Regions from separate parts of the Homo sapiens genome. Here region 2 is linked to region 1. The links are contacts of gene promoters, found by promoter capture Hi-C in blood cells and fetal thymus (Javierre and others, 2016). All regions are on one chromosome and are shown on one strand. The core of a region is centred on a gene start or on the middle of the fragment in contact, and the rest is flanking DNA. Distances in the headings are between cores, read along the strand shown. Region 1 holds the start of TLL1 (tolloid like 1). Region 2 overlaps TLL1 (tolloid like 1).

Region 1 (6,973 bases), core at 4,052-6,551:
TACTTCGATTATAAAATCGAGTTAATTTTATTTTTGTCCATAAAAAATTATTTTGCATCTTGTATGTACAAAGTATTTTGTGGGATTCATTTATGGAAAAGATGTGGCTCCTATCCTCTATGAGATGGACAACTTGAATGCAAGGCAGAGTAGAGGGACTTCTTTGTAGACTATCATCTGGGGAGTCAGGAAGGATACAATGCAGCCAGGATGGAAGGAAGAATGGGCTTTAGCTGGGGATGGAGGTCATTGGCCATTGTTAGGCATATAGCTCTCCACTGCCCAGCACCTGTTTAGCAGGATTAGTAGAAATGCAGGCTCCCAAAAAGTGGCCAGCCAAAGGAGACAGTGGAGGATCAGGGGTTATAAGGCAACCATAATATGTCCATGAATCACTCACTCATTTCAACTCCCTTTCCCCATCTTTAAAATAGCTTAAGACTCTAAAAACTTTGGCAAGTGATTGACCTGGATAATGTGCCTTAAGGAGTTGAGTGTATTCCTTTCTTCCAAGAAGCTGATAATACTCCATCATTATAGTTTTAAAACTAAATTATTCTCATTGTGTTGGAAGTATATAATACGATCCATCAAAGGTTTCAGAGTCTATTTTTTAATCACCTATGAAGTAAGTAAAATAAAATACAAATTAAATTTTATAGGGAAATTGCTTAGGAAGTCTTGGGAGACATACTTTATGCTCATAATGTAAAAATATGAAAACAGTACTATATTAGCTAAATAAAGGGGACAGAAAATGGCCAGATGAGAGGCGTTCTAATGTCAGTCACTATATTATTGGGGAATTTATAAAGAACACCAGTAATGTTTATTTTTTAGTTTGAGGGGTTTTGTATTATTAATGGAATTTTTCAAAGAAAATTATCCTAGTTTTATTTAATCTGTAGCCAGATTTGTGTGTGTGTGTGTGTGTGTGTGTGTGTGTGTGTGCATGCTGAATTTCTTGCCTGCCAGTGGAAAAACTATGTATAGATTTTGCCGATCACTAGAAAAATACCAATTAATAATAATAACCAACTTTTTTAATGTTGCTAGCTTACATCTGCTAGGGAGTACATTGCATGCATAATTTTATCTAGTTCTCAGTTTAACCCTATTAGGTATTTCATTTCTGTTTCAAAAACCAGGAGAGTGTAGCTAGGGAAGTAACTTGCTCAAGGCAAGATAGCTACTAAATGGGAAAGTGAGTATTAAGTCTGTGTTTTCTGTGGCTGAATTCTGTGCTCTTAACCGATTTGTTCATTGCTTCTCTCCAGCATCACTTTGAGTAAGTTATTCTGCTTTAGGTCAAGTGAAGAAAGAGAAGCTTCTTTTCAAATAATGTAGTTAGAGGGACTGGAAATAATTTGACTTTTTAGAACTCACTTAAAATGATAATAATAACAGTTACCAAAAGTTCTTATGTACTAGGAACTAGTATACACATAGTTTCTATATATGAGGAACTATAAAAAATATCACATATATTAATTAACTTATTCTTTGTAACAACTCTATGAAATATCACTATCCCTAAAATTATCTGCGTTTTATGAATGAGAAAACTGAGGACACTTGAGGTTACAAAAGCAGGTACAAAGTTACCAAGCTAGGAAGTAGAGAGCTGGAAATTGCACTGAGGGACTGTTTCCAAGCTCTATACTCTTGTGCCTCCTTAACTAGGTGTTCAGGGTACAACAGTGAGGATTCAGTAAAGGAGCAGAGGTTACATAATTGGAAACCTACTAGTGGACTCAAGCCTTTGAGTCCCATTAGGTTGGAAATAAGAAGACCTCCTTCTTATTCCATTCCACTGCCCCCATTTCACTTTGGCCAAGCTGTTGCCCAAAGGAAGAATGCAATCATTTCTGGATGTCATTAAGCAATTATATATGTTTTTTTAATACACAAGTCAGTGGATATTCTGAAGAGTGATACAGCAAGTGATGCCTAAAACAGCAAACAAATCCAAAGTGCCAACAATGAATACATGCAGCTTCCCCGTCCAGACTCAGACCTTTTGTATTGAAGGACTGGAAGTGAAAATGACTGATAAGCAGGTACGAGAAGGAAGCAACTGTGGGACAGGTGTGATGGAGGAGGCAAATGGCAGGAACCCACAGGCAGTGTGGTGTAGCAGAGGACGGGAGCTGAACTAGATCAGTGTTTATCAAACATTAGTCAACCTTCACCTGCTACCTTCATCACTGGCTTAATTTCACAAAGCAAGTGCCTTGGTTTTTAGCTTAAGCATGATTGTAAGAACTATATATGCAATGGCAAATTTAATAACTATTTTTTTCTGATACATATACACATCTATATGTAGTTTATTACTACATTACCTAAAATCACTTCATGTACTCTCAGCAATTTAAGTACCACACTTTGGGACACTGAACTCTACTATTAGGAGATGCCATGTAGAACTGAAAGAAAGCTCATGAAATAAAGCTGTATCTATCCAGTAGAGGGTCACATCAGAATGGGGTGAAAATAAGAGTTAAATGGTCTGGAGTAGCTAAAAGCCATAAAAACAAAGGACATCTCTGTTCCCCACAGTGAGGGCCAGTGAGGGCATGGTAGAGAGAAAGACTAGTACAGTAAACTATTAAAGAATAACCAGAGATTCTGTTTAGGGGCCCCTATTCAGATTATAATCCGGAATCCATTGCAGAAGGAAAGCTCCTTTTATCCCCTGGGTATTTTTTTTCACAAGGGACAAAAGGGAAATATATTCATTCATGTATTACTTGGTCTTATAACACAAAAAGATCACATCTAGCTTTGCACAAATCTAGATTAGAAAGAGTACATGTCTAATTGATATTTTCTACAAGGGAAATTTATTTTAATTGGTATTTCCAACGTGATATACTAATTGGCATAGAGCTTGCCTTTTGCAGCACTCTTGGTTGGCTTCATTCCCTATTATTGCTGAGAGTGATGGGGTCCTGTTGTAGGTGGCAATGGTGATCAAGAGAGCTTGTCAGCTAGAAGCCAGGGCAACATCAGCACATGTCTTACTAAGGGAATCAATTTCTCCTTTTTGTCTTTCTGAGGAGATTGAATTCACGTACTGCGTGTCTGCAGCTATACTATGACACAGCAATCAACTCCTTGCTCACATACATATTCTTGCAAATTTATGTTTCTTTCATGGACAAGGAAAAATCTATTTTTAGTTTGTAATCATAACAACTATAGAGACAAAATTAGTTTAAAAAAATGAAGTTTCTTATTACAACCTAGAGTTAGATTTAATATTTAAAAATAAATCAGGGATTAAGCCTGGGTATTGTGATGTAGGTATTCTCTGCAAGTATATTAGCTGTAAAGAAACATTCCTGTATTTTGACTTGAAGTTCTACTATGAAAATCATTCTAACTCTCTGGACTACAAATTCATAAAATTATAAAACCAAATAATGAAACACATGTTAAAAGTAATAGGTGTCATTATACATAATGAAGCTATTATCCCTATACAGTACTTTTTTTCCCAGAACAAATGAATAAAACATATTTATTCCTGCAAAGTAAGTGATGTTTAGGCAAACCACAGGTAAAACTTCTTGCAAATTTACACATGATAAAATAGTCTAAGGAGATGTTTGCAGGCATTTAGATTAACAAGGGACATTTTTAAGGTTTGGGATAGGGAATGGGAACACTGTCAGCAGCTCAAGAGCAGGAATCCTCTAGATGACATATGCATTCTCTAGGCTTTCAGATGGGCTAAGCAGGACATATTCTTGTTGAGCTCTGCACTAGGGCAACACTATTATTAATTATGCAAACTTTTTTTTTTTTGGATGGGTAAGAGAATTTGAGAATGACTCAGCAAGAGATTTCAAAATCAAACGCCTCTACCTGCTTATTGAACATGTTCTTTTTAAAAATCTACTTCTGCTCTGTATCCTGGGCATTAAAAGCTTAAGATCTATGGAAGGGAAGCTCCATCATTGCAGTGGCCTCTGAGAAAGACCCAGTTTTGCAAAGAACACTTGGTCAGTTCAGTTCCACCTAGCCTTCCTATACTTTTAGTTTAAGTTGAAAATACTTGGTACTTTTTCAAGATTGGCTTCTTACTTTTCTCTAACAAACATGAATAAAACCTAGTAAAATCTCCAAACCAAAGATGACTTTATCTGTCAAAGTTGTGTGTGTGTGTGTGTGTGTGTGTGTGTGTGTGTGTGTGTGTTTACCTTCATACATTCCTCTAGATGATAACTTGGATAGGGGGAACACTAGTCAAATAATATGTAAGGCTTTTTTTTTTTTTACAAGTCCTTGCTAAAGTGACAGTTTTAAAGATTTAGTTGGAAAAGGAAAGCTCCCAATCACCAGTCCCTTGGAAGCTTGTTGGGGGAGAAGTCATCTCACCTATTTTGGAAACTACTTGCAGATGTGGGGAAACCTCGGAATTGCTCACAACAGGGGTTTTACAGAGATTTCCTCTGATTTTTTTCCTCCCCAATTTCCCACAACCTGTGTTTGTCTTGAGTCTGCTCGGCTGACATGTGGTTTACCTCGCTGACCCTCCTGCCAGGTTTTACACCCTCTCCTCTGAAGAAGTAAAACATTACTGAAGCCGAAGGATACTGAGCAACTCTGCTCATGGGCGCCAGAACTGTCACAGAAAATTTGCTTCCCGAGTATTCCATCCAGCTTCCCTTCCTGCGCCCACGTGAGCCATAGCGCCAGCCCATCGGCAAGGTCTCAGCGTTTCCTGCTGCTGCAATCTGTAACTCGATTTTGGATTTTTTTTTTAATTGCAGTTCTGAGGATCTTAGTTCTTAGCAAAACTTTGTTGGTTAGGAGACCAACAGTAGTCTGTTTATTTTCTTACCAAAATCGTGAAGACTCGCACACTTTTCCTCCATTCCTGCGCTGCTCTAAGGTTAAACAGCAGCAAAGGAAAGAAATACACACTCGCTGTTTATTTGGGGGGAGGGGAAATATGGATTTGCAGCTAAGTTATCACGATCCTTCGCTCCACCCCCGGTCTGGCACTCTCAACTGACACGTACATCATCTATTAATTGCTGTTTGCGTACACAGATACATAATATATTCATTTTTATCTTTGGTAAAATATAAATGGAATTGTCAGCGCGCTCCTGTCTGTTTGTTTGTCTAAGGCTATCAAAAGAAGTCAAGAGAGGAGGCTGTGGTCCGGATCCTGACCCTGATTGTATGAATAAGTAAGCAGGATGCAAGTGATTGGGTTAGATGGTGCGAATATTTTTTTTTTTCAAGTTAGGAAGAGGGTAAAAAGACAGGCTGGCGGGGGGAAGGCAAACAGTGCATCCCCAAATCCTCACACTTTTGCTCTCTTGCAGTCAGTTGCTTTGCTGGCTTCTGCAGGCTTTTAAGGTCTCGCGGCGTAGAAATGCCTGGCCCCCACCCCCTTCCTCGGTCTCCCCTTTCAATTCAGATGTGCTGATGTGCAGACCGGATTCATCTTCTCGGAGCTGCGGCGGCGGCTTTGGGCTCAGGCGGCGGCGGCTCGCGCTCGGCCGCGGAGTCCTGGCAGCAGCGGGGACGCGGCGCGGGAGTCCGAGCTCTGGTGGCAGCTGAGCCCGCGGGGCGCCGCTCGCCGAGCCGCGGCCGCGGGAAGTTCGGCAGCCAGAAGGACGACCTGGCAGGCTGCGAGCGCCAGCGCCGCCAGAGCCGAGTTTGCCTGCGCCCTCCCCGCCTCCGAGTGCAGAGTTCCTTACCTGCCCTCCGCCCACCCGTGGGCCCCTAGCCAACTTCTCCCTGCGACTGGGGGTAACAGGCAGTGCTTGCCCTCTCTACTGTCCCGGCGGCATCCACATGTTTCCGGACACCTGAGCACCCCGGTCCCGCCGAGGAGCCTCCGGGTGGGGAGAAGAGCACCGGTGCCCCTAGCCCCGCACATCAGCGCGGACCGCGGCTGCCTAACCTCTGGGTCCCGTCCCCTCCTTTTCCTCCGGGGGAGGAGGATGGGGTTGGGAACGCTTTCCCCGAGGATGCTCGTGTGGCTGGTGGCCTCGGGGATTGTTTTCTACGGGGAGCTATGGGTCTGCGCTGGCCTCGATTATGATTACACTTTTGATGGGAACGAAGAGGATAAAACAGAGACTATAGATTACAAGGACCCGTGTAAAGCCGGTAAGTGGCTCTCCAGGTTGGGACGGTGGCGCGCCGGGGGCCGCTGCGCTGGGTTTCCCATGGGTGGCGGTGGGAGCTCACCTGTTTCCTTCCCTCCCGCGTCAGCCCCTCCGCCGCCCCTCCTTCTCTCCCCCTCCTTTTCCTTCCCTTCCCCACCCGCAAGTGGCAGCCGCTGCGGCCCCAGTTGACTAGAGTTCTGTGCCAGTGGGATCCACTGCCAAGCTCCCATCTCCCAGTTTGGGAATAAGGTCCTAGAGTTTCTGATCCCTCTCCCCTCCCCCAGCAAAACGAAACAAGTCGTAAATATAGCTTGCTGCTGTAGGTTTTAAATTCCAACACTCAGCGGGCTTTATGCATATGGAAGGGACACCGTCTTCTTTCCCCTCTCCCCCAGGGCGCGGTTTCCCAGCGCTTGTTCGAGAGCGAGTTGGCAGGGTTCCCCAAAAGATACAGGAGGATGGCATTGCTACCTGGAGACACCTTGGCTCCCTCTTTTACCAGGAATTTCAAGTGTGGGTTCCAGGCTAGAAAGGGATTGTGACAATCTCGGAAGAACTCACTTCTAGATGGGATTCTGATGCATTTGCCCATTTAAAATAAACTGAAAAGAAAAATGTTTTTAAGTTGCTACCCCATTCAAATTTGTGTCTTCCTTCCAGCTAACACCCCAGGGAAATGCAGTCGGACCGGCACTGCCTGAAGCTCAGCTTCTTGCCTCGCAGGGTCCCTGAATGTCCCAGGTCCTTCCCCTCCCTTCTACGCCTCTGGCGCCGCTGCCAGCCTCTCGCGCGCGCGGGGCGGCGCTTCCCTCTCGCCGCCTAAGGTCGGAGGCGCA
Region 2 (7,810 bases), core at 3,003-5,502, 120 kb after region 1:
AAACCACCCTCTTAGCTAGTGTTATAAACTATTCTGTACACTCTTTGTGGCTTTGCTGCTATGAGAGTAAACGAAAGTAAGCATTTCTTTGCTTCTTTAGACTGCCTTTCCATTGGAAATAGGGCCAGTGAGGGGTTTAAGAGAGAAATCTAATTATAGTAAAGATTTTTCTATATGTTGAAGTGATAACCTACATTTTACTAATTTCTATTTTCTTCCTTTCTAGATTCCCACATAAATCTAACCCCTTCCTTCTTATCTCATGTCAGTTTTGCACTGGGTAAATAATTTTATATGATAAACCTTTGATCAAAGCCTAAAACATTGCACAGCTTTTAGGACTGAAGTTTAAACTTCATAAATAACTAATTCTCTATAGTGGAAAAGTTCATAAATATTAAGATTTAAATCCAATGAAAGACAGTAATTTGAAAAGCATGGATTTTGTCACTTTCTACGATTTTAATGTATTTTCTTTCTTTTCCTTTTGGTTTCACAGAAGAAAATCTGAAGAAAGGTTTAAAAATAAAGAAAATTGGTAAACCTGTAAAAAACAAATATCCCTGTATTTCTAGGTATTTTTCAGTGTTCTACTGTCTCATGATTAATTTCTTATTTCTCGAGTTTTTTGTGCTTCCTAAAGTTACTGTGCTTTGACTCTGGCAGTACTAAGGGATTGGTTGGTGTAGCTTGTATTCAAATAAGCAGGGAGACTATTTTATTGTTACACTAATATATATGACGAACTTTAAAAGAGAAATTCACATACTAGTTATCAATGAACTCTCCCATGGTTTCACAATGGTTTATAGAGCTTTGCTTTATTAAGTAGCATAATACACTAGGTAAAAAAGATAGAGTCAGACTGAGAGCAGTTGCTCACTCCTGCAATCCCAGCATTTTGGGAGGCTGAGGCAGGAGTATTGCTGGAGGCCAGGAGTTCATTATCAGCCTGGGCAACATGGCACAACCCTTTCTGTACAAAAAATACAAAAATTAACAGGCATTACAAAAATTAGCCCAGCGCAGTGGAGTGTGTCTGTAGTCGCAGCTACTTGGGAAGCTGAGGTAGGAGGACTACTAGAGTCTGGGAGGTTCAGGTTAAGTCTACAGTGAGCCGTGATCGCACCACTGCACTCCAGCCTGGGTAACAGAGAGACCCTAACTCAAAAATAATAAAAATAATAATAATAGAGTCAGAGTGTTTTCAGGTTTTAGGGTAATGACTTGGTGGCTCTTGAAAATATGGACCGTGTTATATTTGTCATTAAAGATAAAAAATCTGGCATCTAGTTGTTGCCTAAATAAATATTGACTTAAGTATTACTTTTGGTAGTTATATATCCATTTTACAGAGACTCAGAGGCAATGCCATCTTAAGATAAAGTGTATTATAAATTGTATGAAATGTGGTGAATGAATTGCTACAATAGCACTAGGTATTCTTTTGTCTTGATTGCACCTTGCATTATAAAATTATCTTAGTTTATAAAATATCACATGGTTTAGTTGTTACTGCTTTTCCTTTTTCCTCTCAGTGAAGACCTGCTGCTGGTCATAAGAATCCACAGAAGATGCAGACATTCTTATCCGATTTTCAGATATTTGCGAATTAGCTCATGATTGCCTATTTCTCTTTATTTAGAATCTCCATAATCAGTAACCTTCTTATTCAAGGAAACTACTTTCCCCCTCTCCACAAGCAACAATGTAAAAAAATGGAGTTATGCCCTTTTACAGGTAGCTAATATTTGTCCTGTAACAGGTCCAGTGCATTCAGTTATGATTACTTTCTGAAAGATCTGTCTCTATCCAGACCACGTTTCCATATTTTTAACAATGCTTTTCTAATTAGCTTTGTGTGTATTGATTTCACGGAAATATTTTACATTTTAATTCAACTTTTCTTTTTTTAGCTGTATTTTGGGGCGATATTGCCTTAGATGATGAAGACTTAAATATCTTTCAAATAGATAGGACAATTGACCTTACGCAGAACCCCTTTGGAAACCTTGGACATACCACAGGTATGGTTGATTGTTTCAGAAAATTTGTCTTTATTTTGGAGAAAATATACTCTTGAAGTGCTATAAATATTTTTGGATCATTTTTCATCTCCTGTTGATCAACTCTGACTTCCTATACACAAATATACATATTTAGAAATGCAGGTTTTATTCATAGTTTTCATTTTATTAATTTTTTTTTTTTTTTACCAAACAGGTTGTAGTATTTGCTACATACTAGGTCTGGTTTAAGTGCTTTGCAGGTATTAATTCTCTGAATCTTCATGACAACCCCCTCAGGGTAGTTACTAATATTACTATGATTTTAGAAATCAGCAGATTGAGATTTAGAAGGCTATACAGCTTTCTTATCGTCACATCATCAGGAAGTGGCCATGTCAGAACCAGAATTCAATTCTGAAAAAAGCTTGATTTTGTCCTCTTGAGTATTATATTAAGTTGCCTCTCATTTGGATATTGAGTTGCAAAATGTAAATTATTCTTAGAGAAATTATATAGGAAATGTATTTGAAATTATATAGGAATAATATTTGGAAAATTTATATATCTATATAATTTTTGTAAAAACCCCAGAAGGCAATTTTAATTTTAGTTGATTTAAACATGTTTGAATTATGCCTGTAAGAAACTTGATATATGTAAAAGATTATTTCAGTTCTCATTTAACAATTTTTTAAATTAAAATTTCAAAATTCTTTGTAGTATCTTGGTAAAATTTTTATCTGTGTATTATTCTGGAGAAAATTGCAAGGTTAGAAAGTTAAAATCTCTTTCTCTAATTATATTAATAGCTAAAATATTTATTTCATGTCATGCTTTTGATTTCATTGCATTCTCCCTTTTTAGTATTTTTATTTTCTCCTATTCTGTGGAAGTACAATATGTGGTCCTTTCTGATATCAAATGCACATATATATTATGGACTTAAGACTTTTTACTGTGACTTTTTACTTTGCCCAATTTACTTTTTTTGCCACTTTTTACTATGACCAGTTTTAAATATATCGAAATATTTCTACCTATTAGATTGTAGAATAGTGGTATTCTTACTTGTTAGATTCAGCAGTTTTTAACAGTTTATGATTTTCACTGAATGTGTGTGTGTGTTGTGTGTGTGTGCATACATGCATACGTGTGTTTAAAACAAATTTGAAGTCAACTGCAGAAAACGCACTTTAATATTATTAGGTAGTCTAGCATGTACTTTGTAAGAATAAGGATATTATTCTATATAATCAAAATACCACTATCAGATATAAAAATTTATTTAAAGTAGGGAGTATGTAAGAGAAAGCCTAAGGAATTCATCTAAAATAATAACACCATGTAAAAATAGGGTGCTTTGGTGTTTGTTATGCATAGTGACAATCTTTTCTAAAACATATATCAGTATGGGTGCTAATATTGCTGTGCAGTGTCACCACAGATAGCGTATCCCTCTAGATTATGTTTCTTGGCCAAATCTCCAGTTGCTATATCACCTGTAACACTGTCATGGAGACAACGCATTCTGGACAGTAGAGCAATGATACAACAATAAAATGCTAGAGTTATTATAAGTTGCATTTCCAACTTTTATTAAAATTTTCATTAGCTCTAAGCTTTAGATCACTTCTTTGACCTCCCTTCTCCCATTATTTTGAAGGCATTGATTTTCTGTGATTTTAAATTTTTAAAATGTTGTTATTTAATTTAATTTTATTTATTGTTAAACTCTGAGACCATAATAATTGGAAGAAAAATAGTGTTATTTTAGACATAGAATAAAACAGATCATACTGATAATAATAAAAACACTTATTCTAAATTTTTCTGTGGAAGGTACATGTTTGAAAGTTCAATAGTAACTTGCACTACTCAGTTGAATTGCAAACAATGTAATATAAATATAGTTGTTACATAATGGTCATTTCAAACATCATTGATGCCATACTTTTAAAATGTTTCTCCTAATTGCTTAGGAATGAATGTATTTAAGTATTACCTCATCTTTCTAAAATGTGCAATGAAAAAATTTCAAAAATGTTTCTCAAGATGCACAGCAAAAATGTGGCCATGTAATGGAAGTAATTAAGTAGATTATTAGTCAGTGAACAAGCACTCTAACTTATTTGCCTTATAAGGACTTATTTGATTTTTCCCTTAAGAGGCTTATATAGCAATAGATTTTATCATTTTTTTTTAGCTTCAGTCTAGGTAATTAGGTGCATCACAATTTTAAATAAAAAAATAGATATTGGAAGGAAATAGTTCAAGTGATTTGTGAATAGTTCAAGTTGTCGTCGTGGAATTATAGCTTTCTTTGTCTTAGCCCAAAGATACTCTATGAACCATAGATACTCCATGTTACTACAAATTCATAGGCACTTGTTAAGATGTCATTAGTGGCTGTATTGGTTGTTTGCTGAATGATAACTTTTTCCTATTTGTCTAATAAAAATTCAAGGAGAATAGAGAAAATAGGTGACAAAACCGAGAGTAGCATTTTATAAAAGCCCTGGAATGAAAATCTGGAGACTTGAATTATTGCCAAATGCTATGCTTTCTGACTTATGACAGGAATCTACCTTTTCTAGGTTTTGTTGGTAAAATTGCAAGAACACATATTGCCTTATTCCTACCGTTTCCTATTCCTTTTGCACTACAGACTTTTTTTACACTCTGTTTTTTATAAATTTTTCAAATTACACAGCGTAACAGAATATATTTTGCAGCTGAACATTCGTTTGGATTCCTGTGGCTTTTTCCAAATTACGTTTTTGATTTCTATAAATTCAACTAAATTTTCAAAATGCAGTTGAATATATTGTTAAAATGTGATATGCTTTAAAAAGTTTTTGAAATTCATGGAAGCTTTGGAAGAAAACATGCATTACACATTTGCTCTTCTAATGTTTTTATTTCCATTTGCTGATTTGGCCTCCGAAAATATTCAGTTTGCACTGGGGAAATAGCTGGCATGCAATCAACAGGGCAGAACAACTTGCTGTCATTCTATGTAGCACTATGTGATGTCAAGGTCACAGTAAAGAAAAATGTTTCAAATTATCAATAGATGACTCAATTGTCATGATGTCCAAATAAAGTTATTTACATTGCTCTCTGAGTCTCCCCATCCCCTTATTTTAGTTACCAACATTGGTTGCTGTAGAGTTTTTACCCCCTTCAAAGATTCATGGATATTCATAATTTCAACACTTTAAGACCACATAAAAAATGACCAAAGAGAAATCATTGTTGCCTATGACTGTTTTTTATTTGCAAGAACTTTAACATATTTTGAGTTTAACTTGTTTCCTTTTATTCTTTAAGGTGGACTTGGAGACCATGCTATGTCAAAGAAGCGAGGGGCCCTCTACCAACTTATAGACAGGATAAGAAGAATTGGCTTTGGTATATCAATGTTTAAAGTTGCAGACGCTTGACTTGATGTACAGTAAATATTATACTCATAGCAGTTCAGTTTATTAAAATCAGTGTGCCATTATGATGTGAAGTATGTAAATGATATATTCTAAAACTTTTTATTTTGCTAGCTCATATCTGATCAAAGCCTTTTAGAACTCATTTGGAATAATTTGAAATGTTCCTTTAATTTATTTTAAGCTTCTCTTTATTTAAACATGTATCAGGTGTTTATTTTATTATTGATACTTATTTCCAGGCAATTCAGCATCACACCAAGGTATTTTTATAAAGCCTGGATCAATTTTAATCAAGTGAAAAAATATCATGGTTATTTGTTTTGAAATAAATCTACTTAAAGTAAAATGAAAAACTTATTACCGGATTTAAAAAGTTAAAATGTTTTGACCATTCAAAAAATAGAAAATAGTTATAAATATATATAAACATTCAGAACTAATTATGCCTCTGGCTCATAATTAGTTAATATTTACAGTATTGAATGTATTAAAAATTATTTGTAGATTTTAGAGGTTTGTTTAAAATCCTGTATGCATAGCTCATATTCTAACGTTCCTTAAATTGATGGATTACTAATTAAATGCTTGAAGTACATATTTCCAAGGAATAATTTTCCCAAGCAAAAGTGCTTTGCTCCAGGCTATTGAAAAGACAGACATGTTAGAGACAGAGTCCCTATTTGTTGTGTCAAAGTATACACCAGTGGCAGGATATTCATATTGACAGTGATAGATAAGAAAGAATAATCATGTAAATTTAGGAGAAACAAAAACAGCAACAAAAATATTATGAAAGGCCATTAAGAAAAGGAAAAGACTATAGACTTGAAAGCTGCTCCAGAATAGAATGCATTTTGTTCGTGTTGTGTACTGACCTCTAAATCATGCTGCATTCCTTAATATGAATACTGAGGAAACTGGAATGGAGATAGCTTGTTGTACGGGAGGCTGAGACCATATTTGTCTTAATGTTACTTCATTTACTACCTGTATAATATAGTATTCTTAATTTTAGACTGTACTGTGGAATATCAGTTCAGATTTGAAGGATTAGGAAACTAGCAGGAGTAACAAGAATCTTAAATATCATGGGACTTTATTAAACAATATTTGTTTTAACTGTTGGTGAATTGATAGTGACTAGCAAGACATGAAACAGAAAACAAATTTTCTGTGGCCTATAAGCCTGACTGACTTCTATCCACTTTAGGCTGTTGTATGGATATCCAACAAAATTCACTCACAGAACATTAAGATATAGTATTTTGACATGAAATACTTCAATATTTTAATGCTTTTGTTCAAGTATGTAATATAACTGAAGTTTTTCTTTAATGCATTTTGACTTCTGGCATTTATACAAAAAATATGTAAATAAGACATTTTAACTTTTGTCCTTTAAGAGGTAAATGATTCCCTGACCAAGAACTTCTGTTTCACAGAATGTTTTAAATGTCACTGCAGGCTTGGAGCAAAACAACACAGTTAAGGGAAAAGTACCTCTACAATTCTCAGGGCAAAATGAGAAAAATCGAGTTCCCAGAGCCGCTACATCAAGAACGGAAAGAATATGGCCTGGAGGCGTTATTCCTTATGTTATAGGAGGAAACTTCACTGGTAAGATACTCCCAGCATGTCTGTTTTCATAAAGAAATAAAAACTATCATACAGATTAAGTGTCTATTTTTATAGAATATTAACATAAGATACATAGTATTAAGTCAAGGTTGGAAAACTACTTCATTAACTTAGGTTATTAGTGTAGAGTGTCTTTGAAATTGAAAGCATATCTTTGGTATTGTGTTCTAAGAGTTTAAAGCACTGTTCTGGTTTTTAAACAGAGTTTCAGATGTGCCTATTAAATTTGGAAGCTGATCTCTTTCAACTGACAGGAAGAATGTATGCCTCATTTATAGAGCCTTGTAGACACATATTTGTAGAGATAGTGAGCTTTAGCCCTCTGATTATAAAGTGAGTGTCCGTTCTTAACAATGACTCATTTGTGGTGCCATAAACTAGTATTCTTTGGTTGATGATAGTGGTGGCATTCTGCACTGCTCAGCCAGACTTAGGGTAGAGGATGCAGCAAGAAGCATTCTTCCTGGGGATGCCACCTTTTCATTAACATCACACATTTTTTCTAGGCAGCCAGAGAGCCATGTTCAAGCAGGCCATGAGGCACTGGGAAAAGCACACATGTGTGACTTTCATAGAAAGAAGTGATGAAGAGAGTTACATTGTATTCACCTATAGGCCTTGTGGGTAAGTAGAACTAGGTAGGGACTGACTTAAGGAAAAAAAAAATTAAAAGGAAAACAATTAAATGTCCATAGGTAAGATTTATTTCTTAAGATTTGC

The links. The method cuts DNA at HindIII sites, captures the fragments that hold promoters and counts their contacts. A CHiCAGO score of 5 or more calls a contact.
Region 2: a fragment that was not itself captured here is called in contact with the fragment with the promoter of TLL1 in region 1 in 1 of 17 cell types (endothelial precursors); the score reaches 5.3 in endothelial precursors.

What each region holds. Positions count from the first base shown.
Region 1 is chr4:165,867,936-165,874,908 of GRCh38, forward strand. TLL1 (tolloid like 1) reads left to right here and starts at 5,302. Exons shown (of 21, transcript NM_012464.5): 1 at 5,302-6,138. The coding sequence starts at 5,970. The HindIII fragment of the contact is 7,346 bases long and covers 4,360-6,973 here.
Region 2 is chr4:165,987,465-165,995,274 of GRCh38, forward strand. TLL1 (tolloid like 1) reads left to right here. Exons shown (of 21, transcript NM_012464.5): 2 at 1,917-2,027; 3 at 5,340-5,420; 4 at 6,917-7,069; 5 at 7,597-7,714. Among named protein-coding and RNA genes, the nearest start is that of TLL1, 120 kb to the left of the region's middle. The HindIII fragment of the contact is 1,252 bases long and covers 3,627-4,878 here.